Linked DNA regions of Homo sapiens: region 2 is linked to region 1. The links are contacts of gene promoters, found by promoter capture Hi-C in blood cells and fetal thymus (Javierre and others, 2016). All regions are on one chromosome and are shown on one strand. Each heading gives the region's core, a stretch centred on a gene start or on the middle of the fragment in contact. The rest is flanking DNA. Distances are from core to core; before and after follow the strand shown.

Region 1 (2,947 bases), core at 54-2,553:
CTGCTGGGGAAGTTCCCTTCTCCTCTACTCCAACTTCTTGCTTCGGGGCGGACTGTCTCTAGTCTGTCTGTTGTCTCCCCTCTGAATCTACTTGCTTTTCATTTTCCTTTTCTATAAGCTTTCTTGTCAAAAGGAAAAATTACTGATTGGACCAATTGACGCTGAACATGCCTTAAAAACTAGTAAACTATTCCAAAAATCTCCGTGATGATTTCATGTTCCGTTTCTTCACTCCTGAGAAAAGCTGTGCTCCTCCCCTTACCCTTGCAGACTATCCTGCCTGGTGGTCTGGCATCTTCCCGATGTCCCGTGGGCTGCAGAGATGGAATCAGGGGGTGAGGGGGAAGCAAAGCAAGGCAGAGCTGGGTACAGCCTAGAAGAGGTTAAATAAGGTAACTGCTCGAGCGAAAGCCATACGTACTGGAACGCCATCGGGAACCAAATTTACTAATATATAAACTCACGTTAGAACGCCATTACATGGTGGAAAGTACACGTGACACAATAGGCTTTCAACAAGTTCTAACAGGAAGTCACAGCACTCGACACAACGGAAGTATCCATTTTCGCGCCAAGAGCCAGGAAGCACTTTCTGTTAACACAAGTTTCCTGCACATCCCTAATTTTTTAGGCGCCATATTCCTCACTCAGTACTAACAAAGTGTATGTGGCTTCTCCTTAGCCAGACTCGATTACAAGCACTGCATGCATTACTCAGTGTGATAAGATCATGATAATCCCTTTAAAAAGATCGCCCGAATTTAAGCCTGGATTAGGAACACGTGTTTACAGCTCTAATATCGATAATTTAAGTGGCTCTTAAAAGAGCCTTTGGGGTTGGGCTTTAAGACGCTTACTTGGCAAGTTTACTTAGCGCTGGTGTACTTGGTGACGGCCTTGGTGCCCTCGGACACGGCGTGCTTGGCCAACTCCCCGGGCAGCAGCAGGCGCACGGCCGTCTGGATCTCCCTGGAGGTGATGGTCGAGCGCTTGTTGTAATGCGCCAGGCGGGAAGCCTCACCCGCGATGCGTTCGAAGATGTCGTTGACGAAGGAGTTCATGATTCCCATGGCCTTAGAGGAGATGCCGGTGTCGGGGTGGACCTGCTTCAGCACCTTGTACACGTATACGGAGTAGCTCTCCTTGCGGCTGCGCTTGCGCTTCTTGCCGTCCTTCTTCTGCGCCTTAGTCACGGCTTTCTTCGAGCCCTTCTTGGGCGCGGGAGCGGACTTCGCTGGTTCCGGCATGTTGAAGGCGAACTACGAGCCTGAGACGAGCAGCAGATCGAGAAAACGGGAAGTAATGGGAGCAAGGTACCAGGAGTCGTTTTTATATAGGACCTCTCATGCAAATAAGGTGAAGAGTGAAAGTCCTGTATCTGATTGGTGGTTATTAGGGTGACGTCAGAGGTTAGTTATACCCAATCAACCCAATCTGCAAATCCAAAAGACGTACTTCCATTGGTTAAAACTAAGCTACAACCCTAACCAATGACATATCTTCTTTTTCGCGCCCAATAGTGTTTATAAAAGGCGCTGCCTTTCCTCGTTGGCTACTTTCAGTAAGTTGTGACCAGTATGTCTGGACGTGGCAAGCAAGGCGGTAAAGCTCGCGCCAAGGCCAAGACCCGCTCTTCTCGGGCTGGGCTTCAGTTCCCCGTGGGCCGAGTGCACCGCCTGCTCCGCAAGGGTAATTATGCCGAGCGGGTTGGAGCCGGCGCGCCAGTGTACCTGGCTGCGGTGCTGGAGTACCTGACCGCTGAGATCCTGGAGCTGGCTGGCAATGCGGCCCGCGACAACAAGAAGACCCGTATCATCCCGCGTCACCTCCAACTGGCCATCCGCAACGACGAGGAGCTCAACAAGCTGCTGGGCAAAGTCACCATCGCGCAGGGTGGTGTCTTGCCCAATATCCAGGCCGTGCTGCTGCCTAAGAAGACTGAGAGCCACCATAAGGCCAAATAAGGAGCGAGGTTGTGAAAACTGGAAAACAAAGGCTCTTTTCAGAGCCATTCTACACTGTCTTAGAGAAAGCTGGACACAGTCATGTTTGTTTCACTTCATGTTTGCTTCGCTAGATAACATTGTAAAGCGCTTCTTTCGCGGTTGGGCTGGAGCAACTCTTTACAATGTTTCTAAATTAACCCACTGGAAAGCAATGAAGACCCAAAAGTTGTTGTAGGATACTCCGGAGAAGCTTATTCAGCAGGGGTAATAAGTGAAATCAAACGTACAAATCCCTGAAATCTATTTACTAATTCCAGTGGTTTTTTTTTTTTTTTTTTTTTTTTTGAGATGGAGTCTCCAACAGGCTGGAGTGCAGTGGCGCGGCGCGATCTCGGCTCACTGCAACCTCCACCTCCCAGGTTCAAGCGATTCTCCTGTCTCGGCCTCCCGAATAGCTGGGATTACAGGCACACACCACCACGACCGGCTAGTTTTTTTGTATTTTTAGTGGAGACGGGGTTCCACCATGGTGGCCAGGCTGGTCTCGAACTCCTGACCTCAGGTGATCCGCCCGCCTCGGCCTCCCAAAGTGCTGGGATTACAGGCGTGAGCCACAGCGCCCGGCCTCCAGTGTAATAATTCTATTACATTAATAGTGTTGTCAAACAGCCATAAAAATGGGATATACTTGCCATTCTTTAAAGGCAAATTTTGCAATTCTAAGTATTCTTGAAAAGCAAGAAAGGGCAGCCTGATTCTTAAGTGGTCTAACTCTTAAGAGTAACTTTACCCAGGTGATGAAAGTCTAGTGACTCATTTGCATTAGAATTTGATTCCGATGGAAGGAGAATATGGGATGCAGAATTTCCTGAATCCCATATTTGTAAATCCTTAGTCCCATTTCTTTGGAGCAGGTGTATTAATGCACTCTTGTAGTAGCTTAGGATACAACATAGCTTTTTCTGTCTAGCTAATTTGTATTATCAAATTTATTAGATCGG
Region 2 (2,852 bases), core at 353-2,852, 1.2 Mb before region 1:
TCGTGTATAATGAGCAATGAGAATGACTAGAGGCCACTCTTGTTGCCATCTTGATTTTGGTGGGTTTTGGTCAGCTTCTTTACTGCAACCTGTTTTATCAGCAAGATCTTTATGACCTGTGTCTTGTGCCAACTGCCTATTTCATCCTGTGACTTACAATGCCTAACTTCCTGGGAATGCAGCCCAGTAGGTCTCAGCCTTATTTTACCTAGCCCCCATTCAAAATGGAGTCATTCTGGTTTGAACACCTCTGACAATAGGACAGATCTGGAATGAGCCATGCCTGGGTACAGAGTCACATCCACAACAATGAAAGTTGTAGATATCTGCAAGGACTCATCGTGGGACCAAGGATTCAGGGGCTCATTCTTTCTCCTCTCTCTGTGTGCTGGTTGCCTCAGGAGTAGAATGTCCCATGCTATGCATGGGGTCTGCAACCATCATGCCAGGGCATGATGAATCGTAGGTGGCAAAACAACAGAAGGCTCTGTGAGCACCCAGGAGGGTGCAGTGCTGAAGAGTCTTCTGCTTGGTATAGGAAGAAAGGAACGTGTTTCCCAATCTTGCCTTTATTTTGAGTAGTTGGACCAGAGGGATTGCAGCTGGGCCAAACTCCATGTTCCATTGGCTATCAGGGTCAGCAGGCAGGCCAGGGGCCCAGACAGGCCAGTGGCTCCCAGAATTCAAGTTTAATTTCTCCTCCCACCTGTGTCCTGAGCTCCCCTTACTGGTTCCCTTGGACCACTGCATCTACTTAAGCCAGCATTTATTATGTTGTTATCATAAATGCCTCTTACACCTGAGACTTATAAATGTGACAAGCTCTTATTGTGAGATAGTAATCCATCTTTTTTCCCCATGAAATAATAATTCTAACGGGTGGTGATAGTACTTTTCCTTTCATTTTGAAGTGGAGAAGCTGGAGCTAAGTCATTAAGGACTTGACCCTGGACCCCACAGCCTTTTCTCCACAAAGCACAAAGCAGAGTGATGGTCCCAGGGATCCCACACAGCTCTAAGCTGGGGGCACTCACTGCTGGGCCACTAGTGACTCCCATTTTCTATCCTGGCTGACCCTCGCTATTGAAGAAGATCTGAGTCCTGCAGAAGGACAGCAAGGAGAAAAACAAGACACAGAACGGGACAGAGAAGAATAGAAAGCTGACTCAGATGAATTTTGTGATGCCAATGAGTCCTACTGCTGTTACCACCCCTTTTTCCACCACACCCTTCAGAGCAGTTATAGAACCACAAGCAACCCATAAATAGCAAAAGAAGTAACATCAGCTAGGAAGGCTTAAGGACTCCCAAGGGAGTTGGTGGCAAAAGTAGAAAGATCTCAAATCAGAGTCTGTGAACTGAACCTCTGCAGGCTTCCTGTTTTTAGATACTCTGTGTTGGGGTCACATGATAGTTTACAGGGTTATTAATTGGTTCCTTCTTTTTATTGCTGTAAAAGAAGGATATTTTCTTCCTACGTTTCCCCCTCCTTTACCGGAGAGGCGGAGTGCAAATGATATGAACAACGTCACTAGTTTTCTCCTAAATCTTATGAGCCCCGCCTCCCACAGTAGTTTCACTTCTCAGTTTAATCCGGTCTGAGTTAACTTCCTGACCCAGGAAGTGGCAGCAACAGAGGGGACTAGCAGCGAATATGTAAGTGTCTGAGCAGTGAAGGTTACGGAAAAGGTCCAGGCTAAGGTTTTCTCAGTGGATATGTGAGTGTGTACTGATGGCAAGTGGGGTGGGGAATATATTTCGTGACAGCAGGGCCCCTCCAACTCTGAAAATGGTCAGGACTTTCTTTGTTTTACAGCTCTCACCTCTTTCCTGCTCTTTCTTTCACCAGACTTTACACCAAATCTCAGAAGATTCAGAACTTAGATGAGTGGGGCCCAGGACAGGAACCCTGGAGCCTTGGAAGGAGGGGAGCCCCATCTCCCCAGAAGAGCAGTGACCCCAGCAGAGAGGGGCCTGGTGTATCACTGGAGGAAATAGCCTGCCAAGGAATACACGTCTTCAGAAGAAATTCTGTGTGGCTTCAAGAGACTGATCAAATTGTGAGAGGAAAACAGCCTACCCGGTAATTGTAGTTAAATTACTGTTTTTTATTCTAGGCACTCTTCAAACTTCCTCCTGACTCTGCCCCTGTCCTAGAGGAGCTCCCAGGAGTAGGGGTGTGGGGGCGGGCGGGGGGGAGGGATCGGGGGTACAGGGAGAGCCCAGCTAGGTTCTCAGAAGAGGCAGGCTTTTTCGCTCCTGGTCACTCCTCTGTTGCCTATCCCTGGCCTCCCCCATCTTCTTTCTGCCTTCCCTACCTCCTTGGGTCTGCAAACTCTTTATGTTGCAATCACTCTGAACATGTCTCTTGAGATAGGTCCTGTCCTGGAGAAGAGATAGTAAAAGTAAACTCCCCAGTTCTGCAGGAGCTCTGATCCCATAGAAATAACTGCTCCTCAGGAGCAAACCCTCTGCTCTGCAGCCTTCTTTCCAATTCTTATTCCCTCAGTTTAGGGAGAGGGCACAAAAAGGATAAACCGGTTCTTCTGGTTGTTCTGGTTGCCTTGATTGCTTCCATTATCCTCCTGGTTGGGTCTCTAGCAAGACGTTATTAGCCAGGGAAGTCCCACTTAGGCACCCCTCTCTGCAGAAGAGGTATTCACTATTCTCCTTTCTCTTTCTTTTGCCTATTATACCTCTGCTCCTGAAAGCAAAAACAACAACAACAAAAACACAAACAAAAAACAACCGACCTTATTAACCAGTGTTGGTTGTTGTTCTTTGTGGGGGATGGGGGGGGTCGAGGTGGAGTCAAATTTTATTGTCATGATGGTGTAGGAGCCAAGGGAACA

The links. The method cuts DNA at HindIII sites, captures the fragments that hold promoters and counts their contacts. A CHiCAGO score of 5 or more calls a contact.
Region 2: a contact is called between the fragment with the promoter of TRIM38 here and the fragment with the promoter of H2BC12 in region 1, in 13 of 17 cell types (activated CD4 T cells, total CD4 T cells, non-activated CD4 T cells and 10 more). The highest score is 23.3, in activated CD4 T cells.

What each region holds. Positions count from the first base shown.
Region 1 is chr6:27,145,552-27,148,498 of GRCh38, forward strand. H2BC12 (H2B clustered histone 12) reads right to left here and starts at 1,304. Exons shown (of 1, transcript NM_001312653.2): 1 at 810-1,304. The coding sequence starts at 1,247. The coding sequence ends at 867. H2AC12 (H2A clustered histone 12) reads left to right here and starts at 1,555. Exons shown (of 1, transcript NM_080596.3): 1 at 1,555-2,011. The coding sequence starts at 1,578. The coding sequence ends at 1,964. MIR3143 (microRNA 3143) reads left to right here and starts at 2,075; the gene lies at 2,075-2,137. RefSeq lists enhancers at 202-311, 731-1,647, 902-1,361, 1,692-1,941. The HindIII fragment of the contact is 2,078 bases long and covers 117-2,194 here.
Region 2 is chr6:25,961,200-25,964,051 of GRCh38, forward strand. It overlaps TRIM38 (tripartite motif containing 38), which reads left to right and starts at 1,603. Exons shown (of 8, transcript NM_006355.5): 1 at 1,603-1,656; 2 at 1,850-2,083. The HindIII fragment of the contact is 6,907 bases long and covers 1-2,852 here.